4 separate regions of the Homo sapiens genome follow, and regions 1, 2 and 3 are each linked to region 4. The links are contacts of gene promoters, found by promoter capture Hi-C in blood cells and fetal thymus (Javierre and others, 2016). All regions are on one chromosome and are shown on one strand. The core of a region is centred on a gene start or on the middle of the fragment in contact, and the rest is flanking DNA. Distances in the headings are between cores, read along the strand shown.

Region 1 (7,029 bases), core at 4,378-6,877, about 20 Mb before region 4:
CACAGTTGTGTATCCACCGCTAAACGGTCCCAGTCATACATTCAACGACCCACGCGGAGTCAGAAGCTACCACCACACACTGTCAAAATCACGCACACACAGTGACGGCCCCTTGCCCACTCGGTCACTCGCCCACAATCTCTCGCTAGAGAATCACACGCAGATAGCACACCCAGCACCACAGACCCCAGGAAGCAACCCAGGGACTCGAACACACGAACAGCACTCCTCCGCGCACTGCGCAGGCACGCCTGCGTCCGGCTCACCCTGAAACATCGCGAGATCCGGCTTCAAGGCCGGGCTGCTGCCTTTACGCCTAAAGACTATGTTTCCCGGAAGACACTGCGGCGCCGGCCCTATCATGGCGCAGCATCGGTGTGCTTTGTGCGTCTGCGCCATCTTCCGGCTGCGCACGGCGAATCCACCGGTACCGTGGTGGAAGCGCGCCCTGGGCTGCCGGGGGCGCGGCCGCGGTGGCACTTGGACCCGAGGAGGCGGCAGGTGAGAGGTTCCGGAGCTTTCCAGGCGCTCTGGGGTCCAGCAGGAGCTGGTGCCCGGGCCGGTTGGGTCTCAGGCCTGAGAAGAACGCAGACGTCTCGCCTCATCGTCGCTCTGTGGCTTTACCGGCGTGAGACTACATTTCCCGCCGGCCCTCGCGGCGTGCGCTTTCTGGCGCCCCCTTTCTGCTTCCAGCCTCATAGCCCAGGTGCATGGACCCCTTAGGTGGGTGCGCAGGGGTCTCCGACCCCCTGAAATTGCGGATGTTTTGCATTCACTGTTATGCGTGCCTTTTTTTTTTTTTAATCTGAGAGGAAATCTTGTTTCATGAGGTTCTCAGAGAGTTACAAGACCCCAGAAGACTTAGAACCGCTAGTTTAGAAAAACTTATACTTGGGAACATTTTATATGTTCAAATTCTATGTCCAGCAATGGGGAAACACTTGAGTGGATCACAGGCCATCCTTTGTAAATAGGATATCGTGCAGTTAATACAAATAATGCTTATAAAAGTGGTCATAATAAGGAAAAGCTGCCTATTACATCATATTAAGCAACATTCATAATTATTTCACTTACACGTTACTTAGAACCAAATGTTTGTAATGCAGTAGGCACCTTATATACTCCTTTACAGAGTACTTCTTGTTTAACAGTGAGCTCAAGAACTGGTTAAATGACAACACTGCGAATACTTGGGTGTTTTTTCTTCCAATTTTTTTGTTTTGTTTTGTTTTTAGCCTGTGTGTTAGTGAGTTTGACTTCTTTTTGCTGAATGTTCTCAAAGGATTCAGTAGTTAATATCTTTGCTTGTCAGTTTTTGATAGTCATTTTTGATAGTCACTTGGCATCCCATTATATGGCTGTGCCAAAAATGATTCAACCTCTTGGCTACTTGTGGACTTGCCTACTTACGTACTAATTTTCAGTTCTCCTATTTAGCAAATATTATTGGACATGCAGCTTTGTGCACTGCTGTGTCTCTATGGAAGGACACATTTATGTGCTGATAATGGAGCACTGGGCGTGCTGTGTGTAATTTGTCTCTTACTGTTCCTTCCAACTCTATCCCATTTGTTGATGCAAGGCATGCTCCATGAAGTGGCATGCACAAAGCCTCAGTTTGGGCTGTAGAGCTTTTTGTATATTTGGCGGTTGGGAAAAGAGCCAGGTAGACTTTCAAAGGTGTTATATTTGCTGCAGGAGAGAGTTAAATGGCCTAGTCCTGGAAAGGCTTTATTCTAGGCTGGGGCTATGCAAATGATGCAGGCCTTCTATGCTCCCTGGCTTGAGGGAAGCCCTCCTTGTCCTTGAGGTAACATGTGGGTCTCAGTCACTAGAACAGCCCTCAGCATCCCTGTCTTAGACTTGCATTTGCAGCAAAACAGAACCACTGGATGTTTAGGGGAAATGGGAGGGAAAGGACCACTGGTTCCCCTTTGCCTTGCAGCAGCTAAAGCTGGTTTCCTGGGGTTGGGTGAGGATCCCTTTGCCTCCCCCTCCTTCTCATTTTCTTGGTGGGCAGAGGGCAAGCAGGTGGGGACTTGTAACTTGGCATTCTAGGAACTGTGAGGCAAGCCTAGCCTCTCATGTTTGCTCTTTCCTCCCCCAGCTCTACCGTCGCAGGACTCTGCCCTTCCCCAAGAGAGGAACCAGAAGGAGGACCTATCAGCCCTTGAAATTCTAAAAGTCATGTCCCTTGTGAGTTTTTAAATCCCATAAATATTTGCTTTCCTTATCTTGAAACTTTCCACCTGGGTTCCATCCAGAAATTTGGTTCTCAGACTTTCCCATTTTAGGGAATAAAAGGACCAGGCAGGAGTCTCCTCTCCCATTGTCCTCTCCCCTCTGACAAATGCCCACAGATTTATTCTCTATAGCATTCTGCATCTCCTGATGGTTTTCGTCTGCTAGGAGGAGAAACTCATTTCCCTGTATGAAATGAGAGCATCCTTTGTAAGAACTGAAGTTTGAAGAGATGGAATGAATGCTTAGGAGCAATCACATATAGAAAAGCAGGGGAGGTGGTGTTGGTTGGTTTCAGTTTCAGCGCATGGTACAGTGTCCTGCTTTGGGAATGATTAATGATTGGATATGTAATTGAGGTTTGGCTGGGAATCCATCAAAAATTTGATGCCAGAATTAAAGTCTAGTTTGACGTTGGACAGAGCATTTGAATCTGGGACATCCTCCATTAGTTTCTTTAGCTTAAGAGGAAGAAAAGTACAGAGCTGAGGATGGTGAGCGATGTAGCAAGTGAGATGATCATCTAGGTGGGTGAGTGGTCAGGGCTTGGAAAAGCCTTAGAGATCTGATCCAACCTCGGGATCCAAAATAAGAGGATGTTTGAGTCAGTTGTTTCACTTGATAGAAAATTGTGCACTCAATAAAAGTTATCTCCATGGTTTTTCCCATGAAGAAAAATGCTTGTGTTATGTTCCAACATAATGATGAACTTTCATCTCCAAGAAATTCTTGACTTACATGAAAATCCTGTATCTAAGATAGAAAACATGTTTCCATAATTTTAAAAAATAAAATATTTGGGGAAAATCCATCAGAAATATTTTTTGTTGTTATTGTTATTCCAAAAGATAGAAGTGATAGGTCTCACCTTGAGAATTTATTGTATGCCAAGTATAGAGTGGGCAGTGTGCTTTATTACACTGTTTCTTAACAATAAGGAAAACTCCATTTAGCTTGATTTTAATTTTCATCCCAGACCTGTACACAGAGCATTGATTTGCAGTTAAAAGGAATGTTTGAGAACAATTTGATCATTCTGTTTTACTCATCCCCATTTCTTCTGTCACCTTTCACATTCAGTCCCACCCTTCTTGTTCAACAAAACAACCCCCCCTCCCGCAAAGACCTGCCCCATCTCCTTTCATCCCACTGTGAACCATTGAAATACATATATATCATACATGCCTGTCATTCCAGGGGTCAGAATTGTTCAGGGATGTGGCCATAGTCTTCTCCCAAGAAGAATGGCAGTGGTTGGCACCTGCTCAGAGGGATTTGTACAGAGACGTGATGTTGGAGACCTACAGCAACCTGGTCTCACTGGGTAAGGTGATCTCGTCTGTTAGTTTGGAGGTTATCCTTGGGCATGTTCCTTCCTGGTCAGTTTTTGGGTGCTTTTCAGTCTTATGATTGGTTGGTCATTTTTGAGGGGTTAAAGGGCGGCGCTGTCGGCTGAAGCTGCATCCCCCTACCCCCAGGCAACTGTCCCATCTTCCTCTGGCACTTCCTGCAACTGCCTCTCCTGCTTGATGACCAGGTCCTGGATCTGAATTCTGGGGCCCCCACACCATAACCAGGTGGCATGTTTCTTCTCATCTCCAGGTCTTGCCGTTTCCAAACCTGATGTGATCTCCTTCCTAGAGCAAGGCAAAGAGCCCTGGATGGTGGAGAGAGTGGTGTCTGGAGGCCTGTGTCCAGGTGAGTGAGGTATCATTGGGAAGGGAGCAGCCACTGCAGGTATCAGGTCCGCTGGAAGTGGCCCTTTGTCTTAGAAGATCTTCCCTGCAGGTTGCTACCTTCAAAGCTTATGTCTTACGTGTTGTTTTCCTCAGCTCGTCAGCAGCATTTGACAAAGGTGGCTGCTCCTTCCTCCTGAAACACTTTAAAAATTCAACCTGGATTATAGGGCTAGACTGAGTACAAATATGGTGGTTCCTAAGGAAAGTATTTTGTCTTTGGAAAGATGTCTGTATCTTTTGACCATTTTTCTTTTTTTATTAATTTTAATTTTAATATTTAAAATTTTTTTTAACTTCAGGAGTATAAGTGCAGGTTTGTTAAATAGGTAAACTTGTGTCATGGGGGTTTGTTTACAGATTATTTCATCACCCAGGTATTAAGCCTAGTACTCATTAGTTACTGTTCCTGATTCTCTCCCTCCGCCCAACCTTCCATTCTCTGAAAGGCCCATGTGTGTTGTCCCGCTCTGTGTGTCCATGTGTCCTCATTTAGCTCCCACTTATAAGTGAGAACATGCAGTATTTGGTTTTCCGTTCCTGTGTTAGTTTGCTTAGGATAATGGCTTCCAGCTCCATCCATGTCCCTGCAAAGGACATGATCTTGTCCTTTGACCATTTTTCTAAAGGAATTTGTATCGGTTTGTTTGAATTCTGGAGTCAGTTAACAAGTACTTATTAAGCTTTTATTATGCACCATGGAATATGCCACAGTATACATTGATGAGGCAGGTGGACATTATCCTTGCTTTCATGGAACTTACACTGCAGTGGGAAAATAGACATGAAATCATACACACTGGACATGAGCTAATATGTGAAAGAAAAAGAACAGGTTCAGTCAGGGTGCATGGTAGGGCCAATGGCCTCTTCAAGGATAAGGCATTTCAGCTGAGACATGGAAGGTGTGATGTAGCTGGGGAATACCAGTTGTAGCCAATGAGTGTGAAGGACCTGAGCAGGGAGCCCTTGGTACCTCTGAGATAATGGATGGCCCTTGTGGCTGAGGTCAGTGAGCAAAGGGAGGAACACAGAGATACACTAGGGGCCGGGCATGGTGGCTCATGCTTATAATCCCAGCACTTTGGGAGGCTGAGGCGGCCAAATCACTTGACCAGTCTGGCCAACATGGTGAAACCTCGTCCCGACTAAAATCACAAAAATTAGCCGGGTGTGGTGGCACGTGCCTATAATCCCAGCTACTTGGGAGGCTGAAGCAGGAGAATCGCTTGAACACGGGAGGCGGAGATTGCAGTGATCCGAGATCGAACCACTGCGCTCCAGCTGGGGCAACAGAGAGAGACTCTGTCTCAAAAAGAAAAAAAAAGATACGCTAGGAAAGGCAACCACGTTATGAAGTTTGGGTTCTGCACTGTGGGCAGAGGGAAAGCACTGTAGAAATAGAGGCAAGCCATGATTTTATGGTCCACCTGGAGAGGATATAAATATTGTGCTTCTCACAAATTATTCACCTGCTAGTTTCAGAAGTCATTGATAGTTTTCTCTTGGATCAGATATGATTAATAGTTACAAAATAGTGATTTTTAAAAAAACTTTATTCTTATTTATTAGATCACATACTCCTGTAAAGAAGAGCTTTCTCCCTTTCACCATTTGTTTCTTCATTTATATCATATGGATTAATAGTAGGTGGCATATTTTTTCTCATTTCCAGGTCAGAATAAAATAAATCTTGTTTTATCCTGTAACAGATTATTACCCATTATCATTATTTATCACAACGTTCATAGTTTTCCAGACTTGCCCAGTGACACCCTTTCAAACTGGCTCCTGGGTTCTTTGGACATAATCCCCCCCCCCTTTTTTTATAAGCACGTTTTTAACTTTTTTAGTTTCAACAATTCAGTAAAAGCTAGTTAACATAAATACAGAAGAAGTCCACACAATTGACATCCGTGTACATAAATGCAAGAATGCCAAACCTCACATGAACCAAAAAGTATCAGCTCTTACAATGTTGACTATTTAGCTATGACTAGTAGGTCATAAATCTTCGCATAAGCAAGGGTACACATTCAAATGTTTTTTAAAACTAAGAATAAAACAATTTTATGTTTCTAAAAGGAGAAGCATAAAAGTCAATCTGTCGAAGAACATAAGGATGTGATAGAAAAGAGATTTGCGTGGGCACAAAGTTAATACACTGTGTTAATACTTTTACATATTAAAATCCCTCTGCAGCCAGGCGTAATAACTCATGCCTGTAGTCCCAGCTACTCAGAAGGCTGACAGAGGAGAATCACCTGAGCCTAGGAGTTTGAGGTTGTAGTATAATATGATTGTGCCTCTGCACTCCAGCCTGGGCAACAGAATGAGACCCCATCTCCCCTGCAAAAAAGAAAGAGAAAGAGAAATACTTTGGAGGCAAACTTTATATAGAACGTTTGTATATAGTTTTTTTTTAAGTCATCAGTGTCATACTTAAACTAAAATGCAGATTGTGTTTTTGTCTCCAAACTGATTGTAATACTTTTGAGTCCAATCAAAACACCTCAGAAACATCCAGTTACTGTTGATTACAATAAATGTGACATGCTGACAGAATTTAAGAAGGTACAGTTTTTCACTGGTGAGAGCAGTAAAAGCTTGGTAATTTTCAATAATGTTGGGATCACTACAGTGAATAGATCTGCAGAACAACATATCTAAAACCCAGACAAATGTTAGGAATACTGGTTCTGTTGAATAAATGACCAATGTTTTTATAGAAATACGTAACATAGAATTCCCTCCTGCTCTTTCACCCTCAATAAATGCTATAAAGTGCATTCACAAAGAGCCATATTAAGATAAAGCTACTGCACAAAATACAGCACTCATATATACTGAAATGAGTAGTATCACACTGGAGTTTAATTGTGCACATTTTATATACCAGTATAGCAACATCCTTAGCCAGAAGTCTCAACAGAATTATCATGAACATAAACGTTTAAGGGTTATATACATATATCAATTTAAAGTATGAAAAGGTGCATTTGAACTTCATGGCAACATTTAAAAATGATATCCTTGTTAGCACATCACC
Region 2 (6,927 bases), core at 4,334-6,833, about 16 Mb before region 4:
TCAAAAATGAGTTAGCTGATTTTCAAGCAATGTTTAAGTCTGCAGCAGTAGCTCATCTGCAACTGATAAAACTCACATTTGAGAAGTGGTTTGAGGGGCAACAGCAAGTTAAAATTATAACAAAGTCCAAGTCAAGGCCATAGCCCTAACGTTCTTTGAAATAACCTGCCAGTTGATTAAGGTAACTCTTGTGAAATTGTTTTTTGAGAGTGGATGAAATGGCAAGTGTAGTAAATAGAAACTAGACTGTGGCCCAAGAAGTTCAAAAGCACTGGAATAAAATTCTGAAACTAAGGAAGGGTTCCTAAAACTCGTGGGTATAGCTAAAGTCATGGGTTTAGCTTTGAAAATGTCTCTATTTTGAAATGGCATCAGATAAAATGCTATCTTTTGTTATACTTTTCATAATGTTATACTTTTGAGACTTCTATCAGTCCATAGTATTTTATAAAAACAAAATTAAATTTAGACTTATAATAGTCTTTGGGATGGTACATTGAAGTGGAAAAGAAGTAGCTGGGGAAAGATGCTTACTGCAGAAGGAGGGCATACTTTCTGATACTGCATGAGGGATGTCATCGGGTGAAGTTAAGAACGACAAAATATAGTGGACTGGAAACCTATTCTCAGGAGAACTGTAGCCATGAAAAGTACTGTTATTCATTCCTGACCTCCTGGAACCAGGCCCTAACTCATCTTCTCAGCAAAATTGCACATTTGCTATGGACCTACTGGGTAGTACCTTCTTTGTTTCCCTTTTCTGAATGTGAGGGTTAATTCAGGTTTTATTTTTCTGTTCCACCATGAAATGTCGTGAGTGACGAGGACTCTATTGGGCTCTCAGTGAACAGAAGTGTCATGAGACTGTCATGAGATCCTTGCTTGCAACTGAAAGTTATGTTTGGGCTTTTTTTTTTAAAAAAAAATGTTAGAGGAAGTGGAGGTGAATATTTTGTGTGGGCAAAAGAGGAACAAATTATTTCTGATGGAAGCTGCGCTGTCACATATTGTAATATTTCGAGACAGGGTCTCGCTCAGTCACCCAGGCTGGAGTGCAGTGGTGCGATCTCAGCTCACTGCAACCTCCACCTCCTGGACTCAGGTGATCCTCTTCTCTCAGCCTCCCAAGTAGCTGGGACTACAGGTGCACACCAGCATACCTAGCTAATTTTTGGATTTTTTTGTAGAGATGGGGTTTCGCCATGTTGCCCAGACTGGGAGAAACATATTTTAAGGTATAATTAGCATGTTGTGTTGTTAAAATCTCAGTGATAAACTTGCATATTAGCAACAGAGCTCTTGTTTCCACATTATACAATTTCAGTTTATTTTCTTGTATCATTCCAATGCTTTCCCTGAACTTAAAATAAAAGGGATCCTCCACATATTGGTGGAACACATTCTTTGCATCTGTTATTTTTCTATTCTTTTTTTGCCACACAAATCTGAGAATGTCACCTCGATTTTTGGATCCTTCAAGTTCTTCAATGGAAGAAATGTAAGTCCATAAATTGGGTTAAATGGTTTCTAGTGGAGTGTGTAATGATAAAAAATTATTTTTAAAATGTAGTTTTGGCTGGGCTCTGTGGCTCATGCCTGTATTCCTAGCACTTTGGGAGGCTGAGGTGGACAGATTGAGCCCAGAAGTTTGAGACCGGCCTAGGCAACATTATAAAACCCCATCTCTACTAAAAACACAAAAACTGAGGTGAGAGGATCACTTGAGCCTGGGGAGGTGGAGGCTGCATGAGCCGTGATTGCACCACCACACTGCAGCCTGGGCAAGAGAGCAAGATCCCATCTCAAAAAAAATTATATTACAGTTGAAAAATCATAGAATACAATGTTTAATATGATAACTCAAATATGCATTGTTAGAGCCTTTGAAAAATGCAATTTTATTAAATTATTTAATATTTATTGTCTGATAAATTTAATTTTTATAGTGCATGTGTAAAAATATTATAGACAATTTGAACAGTATTTCAGAAGCACTTTCAACAATTATATTGTGTAAAGTGTCCTATGTATGCATGAATAAAGGACATGTATAAAGTATTTAGCATGAGGAAAATTGAGTCTTTCTCAACCTAGGCATCATAAGTTTCAGGAGTAAACATTCAGTATTTTTTTTTGTATTTTTTAAAACCAGAACATTTATTGCATGACTAATCATAGACATTCTTAAGATGAACTGGATGCTGCAACAGCTGCCCTCTTGGGTTTAAGTATTGTTCCTTCATAGAATCCATGCCTGAATCTGTGGTATACAATTTTTAGGTGCCTCATTCCACCAGTTCCGGTGGTATTTTGTCTTTTAGCCTTGGCACTCCAGTTATACTTTCTCTTGCGCTTGGCAGCGTAGCCACATTTGCCACAGGTCGACTTCTGAAGGTGGTAGGCCTTAGAGCCACGGCGGCAACACAACGTGTGCGTCTTATTGCGACGCTTTCCAAACAATGACGTTCCCTTCGTCATCTGGCTTCTGCGGCCAAGACCAGAGAGACCGGAAGAGAAGGCACTTCCGCTATATCACGCTCAGAAGCTCAACATTCCGTGTTGAATTAGAGTCTGAGCCGAGATGGCATTACTGCACTACTGCTTGGGTGACCGGAGCCAGACACTGCCTCAAAAAAAAAAATTCTCCCAGGCTCAAGCAATTTCCAACCTCAGCCTTCCAACTAGCTTGGACTACTGGTGCACACCATTACCCTTGGCTAATTTTTGTATTTTTTGTAGAGATAGAGTTTTGTAATGTTGCCCAGGTTGCTCTTGAACTCCTGGGTTCAAGCAATCTGCCCACCTCAGCCTCTCTCAATGTGCTGGGATTACAGGCGTGAGCCACTGCACCCTGCCTTGTTCCTTTACTTGCTTAGTAAACTTGCTTTCACTTTACAGTGTGAACTCACCCCTAATTCTTTCTTGCATGAGATCCAAGAACCCTCCCTTTTGGTTGTAACTGCCCAACAGGTTCTCCTTCCCTGCTGCCTAGACAGAGCTGATTCATCAAGACAGGGGAATTGCAAGAGAGAGTTTAATTCATGTGGAGCTGGCTGTACAGGAACCTGAAATTTTTTTATTACTCACATGAGTCTCCCTGAAAACTCGGGGATCAGGGTTTTTAAGGATAATTTGATAGGTAGGTGTCAGTGAGTCGGGAGTGCTGATTGGTTGGGTAGGAGACGAAATCATAGAGATCTGAAGCTGTCATTTTGCACTGAGTCAGTTCCTGGGTGGGGTCACAAGACCAGATGAGCCAGTTTATGGATCTGGGTTGGTGTCAGGTGATCCATCAAGTGCAGGGAATGCAAAATATCTCAAGCACTGATCTTAGGTTTTATAATAGTAATGTTATCCCCAGGAACAATCTGGGAAGGGTGAGAATCTTGTAGCCTCCAGCTACATGACTCCTAAACCATCATCTCTCACCTTGTGCCTAATTTGTTAGTCTTACAAAGGCAGTCTAGTCCCCAAGCAGGAAGGGGGTTTGTTTTGGGAAAGGGCTGTTAATGTCTTTGTTTCAAACTATAAACTAAGTTCCTTCCAAAGTTAGTTCAGCCTATGCCCAGGAATGAACAAGAGCAGCTTGGAGGTTAAAAGCAAGATGGAGTTGATTAGGTCAGATCTCTTTCACTGTAATAATTTTCTCAGTTATAATTGTGCAATGGAAGTTTCAGGTTCTGGATCAGGACCCCTTTCTGGTAACACAAGGATGGTTATGAATGCATCCAGATATCCAAAAAGTTATCTCTGAAAGCCAGAGATTTCCTTTCCCTATGGGTTCTTCCCTTGCATGTCAACCCAAGGATTCACTGGGGACCTAGAATTGTGCAGGGCAGTTAGGAAGAGAGAGACAAAAGAGAGAAGAGGTGAAGTAGTTTTGAAGAAGAGAAAGAAGGTCCCATGCAGCCTCAGTTTTTTTTCCAACAAACTTTTCATGCTGGGAAATAGGATCCTGGTTTATTTGTGGGAGGGATTTTATAGGAGGGTGAGAAAAAAATGCCCTTTGAGGGTAGAGTCTGTGGAGCCCTAATTGGGGAAAAGGAGTCAGCCTGAAAGGACCAGGAGAAAGCAAAGAGATAAAGCAAATAAGCTATAAATCTTTCTTCATGGTCCAGAACATATAAAAAAAAATAGAGGAAGCAGATAAGCTGTAGGTCTCTTTTTCTTTATGGCCAAGGACATATGGCCTTTCTGTGGAAAGAACGTAAATAAGTCACAAACTTTCTGCTTTCATTTATCATCAAACGCCTCAGCTAACAGAAGAATGCAAGTTAGCTCCCTGCTACCTTGGCCTCCCAAAGTGTGGGGATTATAGGCGTTAGCCACTGCACCCAACCAAATCTCCTCTTCTCATGGCTCACTGCAGCCTTCACCTCCTGGGCTCAAATGATCCTCCTTCCTTACCCTTCCGAGTTGCTGGGCCCACACGTGCAGGCCACCATGTCCAGATAATTTAATTTTTTGTAGAGAGGTCTGGCTATGTTGCCCAGGATGATCTCAAATCCCTGGCCTCAAGCAATTCTGACACCTCAGCTTCCCAAGTAGCTGGGACTACAAGAGTGCATTACCAAGCCTGGCTACTTTTTGTATTTCTTGTAGAGATGGGGGTCTCACGATGCTGTCCAGGCTGGTTTTGAACTCTTGAGCTCAAGTGACCTGCCCACCTGGGCCTCCAAAACTGCTGGCCCATCTCAAAAGACTTAATCCATTTCAGTATCAACTCTCAAAAGTCTTAATCCATTCCTGTATCAGCTCTTAGGGCAGAATACCCCCTAAATATTATCTGAACCACACATGGGTGAGAATCAAGGTGTGATTCATCCTGAGGCAAAATTTCTGCCCAGCTGTGAATCTGTGAGGCCAGAGAAGTTATCTGCTTCCAAAATATAATGGTGATAAAGGCATAGGATACATCCCCCAGCCCTGGTAACCACCCTTCTAATCTGTTACTGTAAATTTGACGTTTGTACTTTGCACGTGTAAAAGCACAGGCAGTATTTGTCTTTCTGTGTCTAGCATATTTCGCTTGGCATAATGTCTTCCGGGTTCCTGGATCCAGCCACGGCTCCACATCAAATCCCCAGCGAGATCCTAGTTCCCTGACTATTGAGTAGCTTCAGCATCATCGGCAAGAGTGGATGGAGTCCACCAAGCTTGTAAAAATCGGTTTTGACTTAGTTCAACTTGTTAAGAAATCATCTTAGTTTCTAATATAAGTGGACCACAACTTTAAGCTTTAACCTTAAATTTTGAAACATTAACTTAAAATAGGCAGGCAGCAACGCTGCTTCACAGGACAAGAAGTAGTCAGAAAACCAAAGACATGCTGCCTGTGAACCAGAGTAAATAACAGGCTCTATTTCGGCCCCGCTTACCCCATGAAACCCCGCCCCATCCTCCGCCGCGGCTCCGTCCCGCCCCACCTAGCCACGCCCACTGCCGCTCCGGCCCGGCTCCACCCTCTCAGGGTCCCTCCCCGAGTCAGGCCCCTCTTTCCGACCCGCCCCTTGCTGGTCGCGGCTCGCCCAGGCCCCGCCCCCTGGCCTCCCAGTTTTTTCTCTCCGCTAGCAGTTTCCGTCACTCCCGGAAGCAGATTGCGCCAGGGAAAGGCCTTATCGCTGTGTGTGTGTTTCAGTCTACGTGGATTAAACATTACTTCGCTCCGTCTGCCTGGATTAAACGTGCACTTTGCAGTCCTCACTTCTCCGTACCAGTGATCTGGGGATCGCTACGGACCTTAAAATACCCATAGCCCCTTCGCCCCTGCAACAGGCACTTCTCCCCACGTAAGTCCGAGAATTGCTTCCCTGTCGGTTTAAAATCTCTCTCAGGCTGTTCCTTGCCCCCTGCCTTTCTGCCATGTAGATAACCATGTCGATAACCCCATTCAGGTCGTGTTCCTGCTTAAAACTCTCATTGACCCCTGCTTCGGCCCCGGGCGAAGTCAAGTCCTCCCTCGCGAGGTGGATTCCCACCAGTCGAGACCCCCGAGCTTCGCCCTTGTCGACGCCTGGAGGGGAGCGCCCGCTGCCCAGCTCCTGAAGGAGCCGCTTCTTCTCCCAGGTCCTGGGATTCTGCAGACCCTCCCTGTCCTGAGACACCGTCCCCCGCGCCACCTAGTGTCCTCCGCGCGCCACCTAGTGTCCTCCTCACGCCGGGTCCTTCCCCTCCCCAGGCTGCCCCTTCACAGCCACTGCTTTTCCTGACTCCGCGTTGCAGGAGGTCACCCGAGTCTGTCTTGTGACACCCACTGTCGTTCCTTCCCAAATTTTTACTCCACTGGAAAATGTGCTCTTCCGGGAGGTGGGCATCGTATTCCTCCCCTTTCCTCCTGAATGTGTGGGTGAGAGGGATCAGGAGAGGAAAAGAGGGGGAGCGACGGGACAGAAAGAAAAACTGGGGAGAAAAGAATGAGTACACGGCAAAATGGATGATAATTTAGGTACTGGCAAAGAGAGCAAGAGTGCAAGAGGACGCATGGAGAAAGTAGCACGGGGAGAAAAGCACATAAAGAAATTAGGGAAAAGGGAGAGCTTCAGGGAGCTGAAGGGCAGCAAAATAGAGAGGGGCGGCAAAGGAGGAGGCACTGCAGTCAGACGCGGGGGGCGGAAAAGGTAAGAGTCGGAGCCGCGGCTGACAGAGCCACGTGGTGCTGGGACTGAAGGAGAGGGGAGTGGGTAACAAAGGAGAGTAGAGGGAGAACCACAGCAAGGAGGAAGCCTAGGAAGTTGGGGGTGCTAGAGAGTGGGAACAAAGGAGATGTAACAGGGAAAAGGGAATTTAACAGGGAAGAGGGATTTTAACAGGGAGAGCAGACAGGGAGCTCAGATGGGGGAAAAGAGGCAGGAATACGTGGCGGCTGGGGACAATGGGAAAGTTTGGGGAGAAAGAGCAACAAGAGGTGAAATAAATTTCGAAGCATTG
Region 3 (7,337 bases), core at 2,183-4,682, about 15 Mb before region 4:
TGGACACCCTCAAATATCGCTGGCGGAAATGTTAAATGGTGCAGCCACTTTGGAAAAGTCTGGTAGTCCCTCAAATGGCTAAACATACCATATAACCCAACAACTCCATTTCTAGGCTTATATATAAGAGAAATAAAAACAATAAAAACTTACACACAAATGTTTATAGCATATTATTTATAATAGCCAAAAAGGGGAAATAACCCAAAAGTCCATCAACTGATGAAAGGATAAATACAAGATGCCATATCCATACCATGAAATACTATTCTGGCATAAAAAAGAATGAAGTACAGATACATGCTACGACACAGACAAACCTTGAAAACATTATACTATGTTGGCTGGGCGCAGTGGCTCACGCCTGTAATCTCAGCACTTTGGGAGGCTGAGGTGGGCGGATCAGCTGAGGTCAGGAGTTTGAGACCAGCCTGGCCAACGTGGCAAAACCCCGTCTCTACCAAAAATACAAAAATTAGCCATGCATGGTAGCAGGCACCTGTAATCTCAGCTACTTGGGAGGCTGAGGCAGGAGAATCACTTGAACTTGGGAGGTGGTGGTTGCAGTGAGCTGAGATCACGCCACTGCATTCTAGCCTGGGTGACAGAGTAAGACTCTGTCTCAAAAAAAAAAAAATTATGCTATGTGAAAGAAACCAGTCACAAAAGATCACATATTATATTGTAGCGTTTACATGAAATGAAATAAGAGTAAATTAGAAGAAAACAGAAAGGTCAAAATAAGCAAATCTATAGAGACAGAAAGTAGATTAGAGATTACTTAGTGGTAGGGCATAGGGAGTGGTAACAAAAGGGTACAGGGTTTCTTTTTAAGTGATGAAAATGTTCTAAAGTTGACTTTGGTGATGGCCGCACATAGTAAAAGCCACTGAATTATACAGTATGGGACTAATAGACCTGTAATTAGGAAAAGCTGTCAGTAGAACTTAATTATGATAAACCTACTGAAATATTCAGGGGCAAATGTATGAATGTCTGCAACTTACTTTGAAATGCACCAAAAAACAAAGCAATATTTTACAAGATGGATAAATGTGGCTGGGTGAAGTGGCTCACACCTGGAATCCCAGCACTTTAGGAGGCCAAGGAGAGAGGATCACTTGAGGTCAGGAGTTCAAGATCAGCCTGGGCAACATAGTGAGATGCCATCTCTATAAAAAGAAAAAAAGGTGGATTAATGATGAGTAGAAGGATGATATATAGATAGATATGTAATAAAAGAAACACAATAAAATGATGATAAAATCCAGATGGTAGGCAAACAGGTATTCAATTGTAAAGTTCTTTAAATCATGTTATATGTTTGAAAGTTTTTGTAACCTGGAGAACAGGGAAGTTTGTTCAGTAAGGTGACCAAAAACAATGTAAATATTTTCTAAACTAATTGCTCTTCTATGTAAGAGTAAATTAGAAGAGAACAGAAAGGTCAAAATTAAAAACACACCATTTACAATTGCAAAAAAATTAAAAACTAAGGTGCTGATGAGGGTCAGGGAGAAACATGTTTGGGTAAACATAGAATTGTAACCCATTCTTAAAAGTGATAAGTGAACTTTTTAAGTCTTAAAATTCTATCTAAATATATCCATACACTTAGTGATTCAAGTCACAGTGGTGCAGTTTTGCCTCTTGATGGTATACTATTACAGAAATCTTAAAAAAAAATTTTTAAACAAAAACATGGATGATATGTTTACTATAAGAACGTTCATAATGTAAAATTAAATACGGCAAATTATACCAATGTTTCAGCAGCTTATCTGCATTGTGAAAATCAAGCATAGAAAACTGAAATTGAAATATACAAAAATCTTATCAAAAGTCATTACTGGGGAACACATTTTGGGATAAGAGAGATGTTTTACTTGTGTCAGAACCTGAAAGAAAATATTTACGTGTGTGTATACACACATTCACACAGTAAACCTGAGGAAGAAGAACGAAAATCTTTAATAGAAACCTTATCATTTTCTTCGTTTTGTTTTTTCCTTTTTCTTTTCTCCTTTTCTTTTCTTTTTTTTTTTTTTTTGAGGCAGGGTCTCACTCTGTTGCCCAGGCTGGAGTGCAGTGCTCAATCATAGTTCACTGCAGCCTAGAACTCCCGGGGTCACGTGATCGTCCCACCTCAGCCTCCCGAGTAGCTGAGACTACAGGCGTGTGTTACCACACCCAGTTAATATTTGTATTTTTTGGAGAGACAGGCTATGTTGTTCAGGCTGATCTCCAACTTCTAGGCTCGAGCAATTCGCCCACTTTGGCCTCCCAAATGCTGGGAATATAGGCGTGAGCCACCGCGCCAGGCCACCTTACCATTTTAGATTTGATTAATCTTTGATCTTCCCCAAAGCTTTCCTATTTACCAGGATGAGAGAAAGGAGAGATGTGAGAAGTCAAATGAGATTTGTAAACCAGTCCTTGCAGAGAAACTTAAAAGGGACTGAGAGGGAATGTACCGTTGGACCTGAACACACACACCAATCAGGATGCCCTGGCTGCCAAGGCTTCAGCCTTCACAAGCTTCTCCACGACTGTCACATCTAGACCTCCCTAACATGGTCACACCCCCTTAGATTAATCCAAAAACCTGGACCACACACCTAGGTTCACATGAACCCGGGCTCCTCCTCACTGAGTCGCATATTAAATCCTGATTACAGCCTGGAGCGAAGGCTCACGCCCGTAATCCCAGCACTTTGGGAGGCCAAGGTGAGAGGATCGTTTGAGGCCAGGAGTTGGAGACCAGCCTGGGCAACATAGTGAGACCCCCGTCTCTGCAATAAACAGATAGATTAGATAGATAAATTAGATAGATAGATAGATAGATAGATAGATTAGATTAGACAGATTAGATAGATAGATAGATAGATAGATAGCGTGGTGGCGCTCACCTGTAGTCCCAGCTACTCGGGAAAGCTGAGGTGGGAAAATCACCTGAGCCCCGGGAGATGGAGGCTGCAGTGAGCCACGATTGCGCCACTGCACTCAAGCCTGTGTGACAGAGCGAGACCCTGTCTCAAAAATAAAAAATAAAACCCCGAATCCGAAGCAGACACAGTTTTCCTTGACAAAAACCACTCCTCACTCCAGTCCTCAATCACCGAGCCCTACAGAGTGACCCGCAAAGGCACCAAACCCTGATCACGGACTTCCAAGTGTTGCTCTGGACAGACTCTGACCACCGACCACTGGGATCCCTCAGGGCTGACTCCGGAGACGCCCCAACCCCAATACCCCGACTCCCACTTGCTCCCGCTTCCCCCACAAACTCCACGGCTCCGCACTAAACGGACGCCCACAGACACCCTCCTCCCCTCATCCTGACAGACAGACCCACACACAGACCTGATTTTGCGGGGAACCCACCGAGACTTCCCAGAACCTGCACTTTCCTGAATTATTCCACTTCTGGGCCCTCCCCCAGCCTCCAAGCCGGCCTACGGCGGCCGAGGAAGGTCTGAAGTTGCAGGTGTACGGAGCACGGACGACTGGGAGGTAGTAAGTTCGCGTCCTCTCGTCACGGATACTGGAGGCAGCCATCTTTGAATCCTGCACGTACGGAAGGTAAAGTGGACCTTTTCTGCCCAAGTATTCAGGGATAGCGCGGGACGGTGAAGAACTCCATATTTTGGCACCTAAATCCTGCGCCCAAGTTTCATTTATTTTCAGAGGGTCGAGCTTAGCCAAGACAAACATGGTATGGCTACGTGCACCTTAGCGGGCTGGGGAGAAAAGTCATCCGCTTTGCACAAAGAATGACGGGAATGACACAATGGGCGCGGCCATCTTAACACTTAGGTGTCCGTACAAGTGAAAACGCTTTCTCCACAGAGGAAAAAGAGCAATCGCACCCTGAGTCATATACCGCGAAAACGCATCTAGCTACATGTGGAGGACAAGAGGAAGATTTTTGAGGACCAAAAGGGTGTGGAGAGGCAATCGAGGTACGAGGATATTGTTCACCCCGTCAACGGAAAGTGAAAAAACAGCGACCCCTGGAACCTCATTTACATTTGAGGGACACGGTCACCGCCCAGTGCAGGTAAAGAGAGCAGCCACCAGCCAACCGGAAAAGGAATCCAATGCGGGAGGCGGGAATTTTCCTTAAGAGAGAAGAAGGGCCTTCCCTCTGCTGTAGGTGGAGTCAATCTTAACGTCGGGGCTTTCGGAGAACCAAGTGCCTAAAATTCTGGAAGGAATAAATAAGGCGACTCTGGGAGAATGAAAAGTTGTGCAAGCCCGGGCGCGATGGCGCACACGTGTAGTCCCAGCTACTGGGGAGACCAAGGCAGGAAGATCGCTTGAGCCCAGGAGTTCCAGGCTGCAGTGAGCTATGATCGCACCTATCAATAGCCACTGCACTACACAGCCTTGGCAACCCCTTCATGAGGAAAAAAAGAAAAAAGAAAAAAAAAAGTTGTGCAAGAAAAGTAATCATAGGATACTACCTGACTGACCTATAAATATTATTTACATAGTCATCATAACGTAAATTCTAATTCTGATCCAACCTAAATTAAGACAATTCCATTGGAAGAATGAGAAGGAAATTCCTGCATGCAGTGGAGTGTTTATATTTATAACAGAGTTTTCACGTGTCCTTCATGATACATCTATAGAAAATGCCCCAAAATGCAAACTCCATTTCAGAAACATACCGTGTTACTTAAAATATCAAATCTGTGAAGAGTGAAAAGCTTTACAGAACTATATGACTCCTTAGGAGAATTGCAAAATAAAAGCAAGAATCTTATGACTCAGGAATTCCACTCCTAGATACTTATACAACAGTAATGAAATGATATGTCCTCACAAAGACTCACAAGAATGTTCTTAGCACCTTTATGCATAATACCCTGAACAGGAAACAGTCCAAGTGTCCATCAGTACATGAATGTATAAGCAAATTGCAGTGTAATCATACCCTGGAATACTACTGAACAATAATAAAAAACAAATCATAGATGCATGCACCAACATAGATAAATCTCAACAACCTTATGAAGGGGGCCAGCCTCTCCACACCTGTGGGTATTTCTCATCTGGTGGGATGAGAGACTGAGAAAAGAAATAAGACACACTGACAAAGTATAGAGAAAGAACAGTGGGCCCAGGGGACCAGCACTCAGCATACGAAGGACTCCTGCCAGCACTGGTCTCTGAGTTTCCTCAGTATTCATTGATCACTATCTCTACCATCTCGGTGAGGGGGATGTGGCAGGACTATAGGGTAATGGTGGGGAGAGGGTCAGCAGGAAAATATGTGAACAAAGTTCTCTGTGTCATAAATAAGGAAAGGTGCTGTGCCTTGATGTGCACGTAGGCCAGATTTATGTTTGACTTTACACAAGCATCTCAGTGTAGTATAGAGCAGTATTGCTGCCAGCATGTCTCACCTCCAGCCATAAGGCAGTTTTCTCCTATCTCAGTAAATAGAATGTACAATTGGGTTTTAAACTGAGACATTCCATTCCCAGGGATGAGCAGGAGACAGATGCCCTCTTCTTATCTTAACTGCAAAGAGGCCTTCCTCTTTTACTAATCTTCCTAGGCACAGACTCTTTATGGGTGTTGTGTTGGGGGATAGTCAGGTCTTTCCCTTCCCATGAGTCCATATCTCAGGCTGTCTCAGCAGGGAGAAACTTTGGACAATACCCAGGCTTTCTTGGGCAGAGGTCCTTGTGGCCTTCTGCAATGCATTGTGTCCCTGGGTACTCGAGACTGGAGAATGGTGATGACTTTTACCAAGCATACTGCCTGCAAACACTTTTTAACAAAGCACAGCCTGCACAGCCCTAAATCCATTAGACCTTGGACATGAGTCGACACAGCACATGTTTCTGTGAGCACAGGGTTGGGGCTAGGGTTACAGATTAACAGCATCTCAAGGCAGAAGAATTTTTCTTAGTACAGAACAAAATGGAGTTTCTTATGTCTACTTCTTTCTACATAGACACAGTAGCAGTCTGATCTATCTTTCTTTCCCCTACACTGGTAACATAGTCATGTATATCATTAACAAGAATTACATACTATCCATATTTTATGTGTTGTATTTTATATGACTGGAAGAGCAGTAGGTTTGTCTACACCAGCATCATCACTGACAACTGAGTAACACATGCTACTACCTTGAGATGGCTACCACGTCTCTAGATGGCAGGAATTTTTCAGCTCCATTATAATCTTTTTTTTTAATATATACTTTAAGTTCTGGGGTACATGTGCAGAACGTGCAGTTTTGTTACATAGGTATACATGTGCCATGGTGTTTTGCTGCACCCATCAACCCATCACCAACATTAGGTATTTCTCCTAATGCTATCCCTTCCCTAGCCCCACAACCCCCAACAGGCCCCGGTGTGTGATGTTCCCCTCCCTTTGTCCATATGTTCTCACTGTTCAACTGCCACTTATGAGTAAGAACATGTGCTGTTTGGTTTTCTGTTCCTGTGTTAGTTTGCTGAGAGTGATGGTTTCCAGCTTCATCCATGTCCCTGCAAAGGACATGAACTCATCCTTTTTTATGGCTGCATAGTATTCCATGGTGTATATGTGCCACATTTTCTTTATCCAGTCTATCATTGATGGGCATTTGGGTTGGTTCCAAGTCTTTGCTATTGTGAACAGTGCTGCAATAAACATATGTGTGCATGAGTCTTTATAGTAGAATGATTCGTAATCCTTTGGGTATATACCCAGTAATGGGATTGCTGGGTCAAATGGTATTTCTAGTTCTAGATCCTTGAGGAATTGCTACACTGTCTTCCACATGGTTGAACTAATTTACACTCCCACCAACAGTGTTAAAGTGCTCCTATTTCTCCACATCCTCTCCAGCATCTGTTGTTTCCTGACTTTTTGATGATTGCCATTCTAACTGGCATGAGATGGTATCTCATTGTGGTTTTGATTTGCATTTCTCTAATGACCAGTGATGATAAGCTTTTTTTCATATGTTTGTTGGCAGCTCCATTATAATCTTAAGGGACCACCATTGTGTGTGCAACCCATCATGGACTAAAATGTTGTTATGACTGTTTCCCTATTCCAAGTAATCTGTTGCTATATAGCAAGCCAGCCCAAGACCTAGAGATGTGAATTTACTTTTATGATCTGCATGGATTCACTGAGTCAGGAAGTGAGACATGGTGATGGCTTGTATGTTCTGGGGATCGCAAGATCTGGGGTTCCTCAGGTTCAATAATTTGTTAGAATAACACAGAGCTCAGCAAAACTGTCATATTCATGATTTTATTTTATTACATAGACTGGATACAGTTAAAATCAGAAACAGAGAAAGGTGTGTAGGGCAGGGT
Region 4 (6,730 bases), core at 1,716-4,215:
GAGAGGAGGAACATAAAACGTGTTTCCTTTACAAGCCTGCAATCAAATTGCTATCCTAAACACCTCACAAAGCAGGACATCTTTCCAGAAACTAATGCTGGGATCTACCACTTCTATTTCCCAACGTACCATTGCAAAACCTAGGCTAGCGGAGATCATCAAGGTTTTTCCACGTCTGCTCCATGACTACTCACAGCTTAGGTCTCAAATCAGCATCAGGACAAGTTAAATTCATTCAAGCCATATATTCCCATTTAAATCAAGACAATACCTTTCTATTCCAGCAGTTTGTTTGTGAGAAGACTGAGAAAGGAGATGATGAATGATATACCCAATGAATATGTACAACCAGAAGGTACACTTGGGGAAGGCTTAAGTTGATTTGGTTGGAATGGAGAAATTGTGAACAGGGCTGGATACAGGGTGAGGCAGGTGAGGCACCTAGAATGCAAAATTTAGGAGGGCACAGCCCTGAGGGTACCCCTTAAATATTTCACCTCATGCCACTTGCCTGCCTCAGCCTAATCTGGCCCTGACTGAAGACTAATTTCATGGAAGCAAATCCCAATATCAGGGAAGGTTAAAGGACAGTGAAGCTCATGTTCATACACCATGAAAAAAAGTTATTTCAGAAAGAGAGGAAACATCATCTCACCTGAGACATGGCTTTGAGATTTCTAGATGAACTTTCTCTTTTGAGCTCCTCTTTTGGAAAAAGAAACAGTCCTGAGAAAGCAAAGATGGAGGATATACGTATGTGAGACCATACTTGACTCAGAACTCCCAGAATTAACTCAGTTAAATCTGCATGAATGTTCACTATTTCAGCACTTGTCCACCCTGTGTACCCTTCAGATGTCCAGGATGGTAGTTAGTGGGAAAACAGACAAATCAGGCTCCCTCACAAACACCAGAAACCCAGTCTCTTGGTAAAGTATACAGGATTCTGGGGAACCTGTTTTAGCTTGAAGAGAGGGAACACTGTGTTTTTCCCTCTGCAGCTCTGCCTTCCATCTACCTCTAACCACAGGTTTACTGTGTATTTCCAAACGGTTCTTCTTGGACTTTTTGCCAATTTACACTGATAGTAGTGGATGAGAATACCTTCCCAAGCCCTGATGAAGACAGTTGACAACTTTTAAATCTTTGCCTATCTGGTCTATGTTGTAGTTGAGAATAATCTTTTTTTTTTTTTTTTTTGAGACAGAGTTTCACTCTTGTTGCCCAGGCTGGAGTGCAATGGTACAATCTTGACTGACCGCAACCTCCACCTCCCGGGTTCAAGCGATTCTCCTGCCTCAGCCTCCTGAGTAGCTGGGATTACAGGCATGCACCACCATGCCCGGCTAATTTTGTATTTTTAGTAGAGATGGGGTTTCTCCATGTTGGTCAGGCTGGTCTCGAATTCTCGATCTCAGGTGATCTGCCCACCTTGGCCTCCCAAAATGCTGGGATTACAGGCATCAGTCACTGCACCAGGCCCGCAAAATAACTATTTTAATTACTACAGTGAGACTGGACTTATTAAAAATCTATCAAATACTTTTTATTATCTTAGCAAGCCTAAGGGAGTAGGAAACCTCACTCATATACAAGTGTTGAAAGTGGTAGTTATGCCAGGCACAGTGGCTCACACCTGTAATCCCAGTACTTTGGCAGGCCGAGGGGGCGGGGGGAGGGGATCACTTGAGGTCAGGAGTTCAAGACCAGCCTGGGCAACATGGTGAAACCCCATCTCTACTAAAAATACAAAAACTAGCCGAGCGTGGTGGCACAAGCCTGTAGTCCCAGCTACTCAGGAAGCTGGGGCAGGAGAATCACTTGAACTTCAGAGGTAGAGGTGGCAGTGAGCAGAGATCATGCCACTACACTCCAGCCTGGGCAAAAGAGCAAGACCTTGTCTTAAAACAAACAAAAAACAACAACAAAAGTGGTAGTTATGGTAAAAAAAAAAAAAAAAAAAAAATTTCCTGCATGTCCCCAATGGAATGCTATTCATTTCAACATACTGGTTTTAGTTAATATGGTGTTTCCAGGAAATGAATCTGGGAATTATGAAAATCATCTCTTCCCCTCTGATACTGTTATCTCTATTTTATTTGCTAAATTGCTACTTAGTTACAGTTTTGGAGGCAGGCTTAATGGCTACTATTCAGATAATCAAGTCTTACATAACCAACTAGCCATGGTCATAACAGAGTTCCTCAATCATTCAAATATTTAGGTCACTAAGGCCACAAAACCACCAGAAGTAACAGTAGGTTACAAACACATGCAGAGTCACAGTCAATCAAACATCCTTCAGAGAACCACCAACCTACAGGCCCCACTTGTCATTCACAACCTCAGACAGCAGCTAACACGACTCCAGGCAGTCACAACCACACCTACAAATCACTTGCAATTCTCCACACTCAAAGGCAGTCTCAAATGCGACTCACACCTAATCTAAAAATAGACACACGCAGAGGAAACCTCGCGCAGCAACACTACTCCGTTCACTTTTCACACACAATCGGCCACAACATCCCAAAGAGAGGCAAGCACCTAAAATGCAGCAGGTTGGGCGCAGGAGGCCACCCCTATTCAGCGCGCGCCCGCGCGCGCGAACACACAGCGCCCGCTCCGCGCGGGGACCCGCCGCCAGCGATGGCGCTTCCGCGGGATCAGAACGGGCAAAATCCCCCTTCGCGGAGCTCGCTCCGGGTCACCCTCAAGGTCACGCCCATGGACCACGCCCGAGGCCCGGCTCGTACAGATCGGAGCGTCTGGATACCGCGGTCCCGGTTTCCTCCTCAGAATTTCCAGGCCCGGCTCGGACTCTTGGTTACCTCCCTGGCCTCCCCACCCGGTTCCGCGTCCTTAGACAGCTCTCCCGGAACGGAGCTCCCAGTGCCCTCCTTGGCCTCCTCAGCACCCCTGGCACCCACCAAGCCTCACCCCCGGCCCAGGGTGAGTCGTCTGCGCCTGCGCACTCGCGCGTGGGCCTGAGCTCCCAGGAGTCTCCGGGGCGGCCCGTTAGTCGCCGCGCGGTGCTAGCTGCCGGCGCTCCCCTCCGTTTGCACCCACGGCCGCCCTATTGCGGCTGGCACTACGCTTCTGCCAGGACCCCGGCTCCCTTTTCCGTTGACCTGGTGTTCGTTTTCCATGTGGTGAGTTGAGGTGACCCGGGTCTGGATGCGAGAAGAGCTCACGGCAGGGGACCTGGGTTCATGGGACGCGGAGAGGGTTTGTGGAGGCAGAAGCCCCAGGCCTGTGTGCAAGTCACCTGCTGGGGAGGGAGACTGTGTGATTGTGTTTGTGTGTGCCGTTCTGTGGCTGCGTCCGTGTGTGGTGGTGTGAGTGGGCGCGCCTGTGATGGTCCCGGGGGGGCGGGGGGTGTGCACAGCAGGGGGTGTGTGTGCACAGCAGGTGCACAGCCCGGGACAGCCCTGACTGTCCCCGATTGGGCCCGCGGGACTGAGTGGGGGCGGGGCCGTTTGTGTGACGGCGCTGAGCGGTGACTATGAATGTGTCATGCTGTTATCAGTGATCCTGTGACAGCGCTGTTGTGACCCACTGGAGACTGTGATCAAAACTGGCCTGGTGCAGCTTTTGTAGAGTTTGATTTCTGCAGTTCTGGGGCTCAGGAATACGTGGACAAGGTCCCCGTATGGCTCGATCTGTGTCTGTGAAGACTCTGAGACCTTCTGTTCTAAAGCATGGCCCCTGTCGCTTTCATAATGCATAATACACAGTGGCATGCAGCCTCGCCAACCTCTGGGGCCAATTTTAAGTTACGTGGTTTCTTGGAGTTTGTTATACTGGGATTTCTTTCACTGCCTCAGTCATTTCACCTTATAACCACGTTGCACAGTGTGCAGTCAAATGGCTATCGAAAAGAAAGTTGGATATTTGAGATCCAGAATGAAGTTTCCAACTGAAAAAGCACAGCCTTGTGTTTCACATGGACAAGGCTGTGTTCTGATATGCACAGCCTCGTGTTTGATATGGAGATGTTAGAGCTGGAATTGCTCCCAAGGCAAGGTTCTGGGAAGATATGATATTGAGGCCCCAGGAGTAGGATTCGTTTCTCCAAAGATTTTGTGTGTGTGTGTGAGATGGAGTTTTGCTCTTGTTGCCCAGGCTGGAGTGCAGTGGCGCAATCTCGGCTCATTGCAACCTCCGCCTTCCGGGTTCAAGCAATTCTCCTGCCTCAGCCTCCCGAGTAGCTGGGATTACAGGCATGCACCACCATGCCCGGCTCATTTTTGTATTTTTAGTAGAGACGGGGTTTCACCATGTTGGTCAGACTGGTCTCGAACTCCTGACCTCAGGTGATCCACCCGCCTCGGCTTCCCAAAGTGCTGGGATTACAGGCGTGAGCCACCGTGCCTAGCCAAAAGATCCCTTTTGGAAGCTCTGTGGGGGCAAGTTGAATATTGCAGATCCACAGCATTTTCATAGCTGTCTAAAGGAAATTATTGTGAATACAGAAACATTTCAGTCCCAGGCTTTGGTGAACCTGACTTTTCTTTATGAAGGGAAGAGTCAACAATATTCCAGTCTTTCTCATACTTCCATCTGGTCATATTCAGCATGGGTTATGGAAGCTTGCCGGTGGTGAAGAATGTGTTCTTATTTAGCCTGTCTGGGCTCCAAGAAAGGCTGAGTATATTGTGATTCCCTTTCTTTCCACATTTTGCTGTATTCCAAGAGAAGAGCTCTGAGAGAAGAAAAGCATTGTAGTTGCACATTTTAAAGCAAAGCTGGAGGTCATTTTGATTTTTTTCTTTGTTTTATGAAATGCATTTTTGTTTTTCAGGATGTGGAATAACTTCATTTGAAATGCTCACCAAATAGTGACTTATCTATTTACCTGGTCTCTAGTCCTTCTCTTCCCAGTTACTGATGACATTATGAAGACAGATCTCCTTCTTTCCAGTACCTCATCAGATGCCCTTCCTAGAGTTAATTTTCATATAACACCTTGACAGTATGTTCACTTCTCCTGTGTGCTCTTTTTGTTTAAGCATTCTCATGACATAGAAATAGTCTGCCTTCACACGGTGATTTGTTACGGAGGAGACCAATTGCTTAGGTAGAATTACACATTAGATAGTTTAGATTTTCTTCAGAGACATGAGTGGAAAAACAGCAAGATAGGAGATCGTTTGAATGGTTATAGTAACTTTTTTTGTTTTAGAGGACCTTAGGAGTTAGAATATTATTGCAGAGTATGTGCAGAGAGAGCTGTTAAGAAGGGCAGGAAGTTTTTCCGAGGGGATACCTTAGGAGATTTATATGGTACCAGCTAGTTCTTGCATGAGGTTTGGCCGCATCACGTGTTTTTTTTTTTTTTTCTTTTGAGACGGAGTTTCACTTTTGTTGCCCAGGCTGGAGTGCAATGGTGCGATCTTGGCTCACTGAAACCTCCGCCTTCTGGGTTCAAGCGATTCTCCTCCCTCAGCCTCCCGAGTAGCTGGGATTACAGGCATGCGCCACCATGCCTGGCTAGTTTTGTATTTTTAGTAGAGACGGGGTTTCTCCATGTTGATCAGGCTGGTCCTGAACTCCCCCCACCTCAGGTGATCCACCTGCCTCAGTCTCACAAAGTGCTGGGATTACAGGCGTGAGCCACCGTGCCCGGCCAGGTGTTTTTTTCTTTTTTTCCCCCAAGTCACATAACTGTGTAGACTGTGTGAGTATGGTATAATGGTCTCTGGGTCTAGAACAGGGGTTTGCAAACTATGGCCCTGTGGGCCAAATCCAGCCTGTAGCCTGTATTTTTGTATGGCTTGTGAACTGATTGGTTTTAACTTTTTGTTAATAGTTGACCACGAAAAAAAAAAAAAGGAGAGTAATATTTCATGACATGTGAAAATTATATGCAATTTAAATTTGTGTCCATAAATAAAGTTTTGGATTTTGGCAATTAAAAATTTGTGGAGGTGGCCAGGCGCGGTGGCTCACACCTGTAATCCCAGCACTTTGGGAGGTCAAGGTGGGTGGATCACAAGGTCGGGAGTTCGACACCAGCCTGACCAACATGGCAAAACACCATCTCTACTAAAAATACAAAAATTAGCTGGGCATGGTGGCATATGCCTGTAATCCCAGCTACTCGGGAGCCTGAGGCAGGAGAATTGCTTGAACCTGGGAGGCGGAGGTTGCAGTGAGCCGAGATCGCGCCACTGCACTCTAGCCTGGGAGACAGTGAGAATCCATCTTAAAAAAAAAAAAAAATTGTAGCGTTCAGGTGCAGTGGCTCACGCCTGTAATCCCAGCACTTTGGGAGACTGAGGAGGGAGGACTGCTTGAAGCCAGGAGTTCCAGACCTTATCTCTAAAAAAAGGAAAAACAAAGGGGAAATTTTTCATCTCTCTTTTATATAAACTCCTATATAATATCCTTAATTTTGCCTTTTAGCTCACAAAGCCTAAAATATTTACTATCTAGTCCTTTACAGAAAAGTTTGCCAACCCCTATTCTATAGTATCTGAATTAAAATCTAAGGTTTTGCTAATTATTAATACTGTGTGTGAATTTGGGCAATATACTCAATATCTTTCTGTTCTATAGTTTATTATTTATATAATAATAGTACCAATTTCAAAGGATTTTTATGAGGATTAGCAAAGTTACTATTAACAGAGTAACAAAACGGTGGCTGATAATAATAAATTATTAAGCTTAAATTTAAAACCTTATTATGTGGATATTCTAAGTCATTCCACATTCACATATAAGG

Evidence for each region. The method cuts DNA at HindIII sites, captures the fragments that hold promoters and counts their contacts. A CHiCAGO score of 5 or more calls a contact.
Region 1: a fragment that was not itself captured here is called in contact with the fragment with the promoter of ZNF382 in region 4 in 1 of 17 cell types (naive CD8 T cells); the score reaches 6.0 in naive CD8 T cells.
Region 2: a contact is called between the fragment with the promoter of ZNF616 here and the fragment with the promoter of ZNF382 in region 4, in 2 of 17 cell types (activated CD4 T cells and non-activated CD4 T cells). The highest score is 10.6, in activated CD4 T cells.
Region 3: the fragment with the promoter of ZNF613 here is called in contact with the fragment with the promoter of ZNF382 in region 4 in 5 of 17 cell types (non-activated CD4 T cells, total CD4 T cells, total CD8 T cells and 2 more); the score reaches 14.7 in non-activated CD4 T cells.

The regions. Positions count from the first base shown.
Region 1 is chr19:56,386,914-56,393,942 of GRCh38, reverse strand. It overlaps ZNF582 (zinc finger protein 582), which reads left to right and starts at 409. Exons shown (of 5, transcript NM_001320371.4): 1 at 409-723; 2 at 2,111-2,199; 3 at 3,442-3,568; 4 at 3,847-3,942. The coding sequence starts at 2,191. ZNF582-DT (ZNF582 divergent transcript) reads right to left here and starts at 267. Exons shown (of 2, transcript NR_037160.1): 1 at 1-267. The HindIII fragment of the contact is 1,923 bases long and covers 4,666-6,588 here.
Region 2 is chr19:52,138,594-52,145,520 of GRCh38, reverse strand. ZNF616 (zinc finger protein 616) reads left to right here and starts at 5,583. Exons shown (of 4, transcript NM_178523.5): 1 at 5,583-5,789. It also overlaps the pseudogene RPL37P23. RefSeq lists silencers at 5,288-5,337, 5,348-5,627 and an enhancer at 5,748-5,987. The HindIII fragment of the contact is 2,387 bases long and covers 5,240-6,927 here.
Region 3 is chr19:51,923,567-51,930,903 of GRCh38, reverse strand. ZNF613 (zinc finger protein 613) reads right to left here and starts at 3,432. Exons shown (of 6, transcript NM_001031721.4): 1 at 3,364-3,432; 2 at 1,008-1,172. RefSeq lists enhancers at 3,494-3,793, 3,649-4,412. The HindIII fragment of the contact is 2,177 bases long and covers 2,541-4,717 here.
Region 4 is chr19:36,601,548-36,608,277 of GRCh38, reverse strand. It overlaps ZNF382 (zinc finger protein 382), which reads right to left and starts at 2,965. Exons shown (of 5, transcript NM_032825.5): 1 at 2,931-2,965; 2 at 656-726. It also overlaps a transcript of ZNF529 not described here. RefSeq lists enhancers at 2,514-2,573, 3,554-3,693 and a silencer at 2,934-2,993. The HindIII fragment of the contact is 5,073 bases long and covers 1-4,594 here.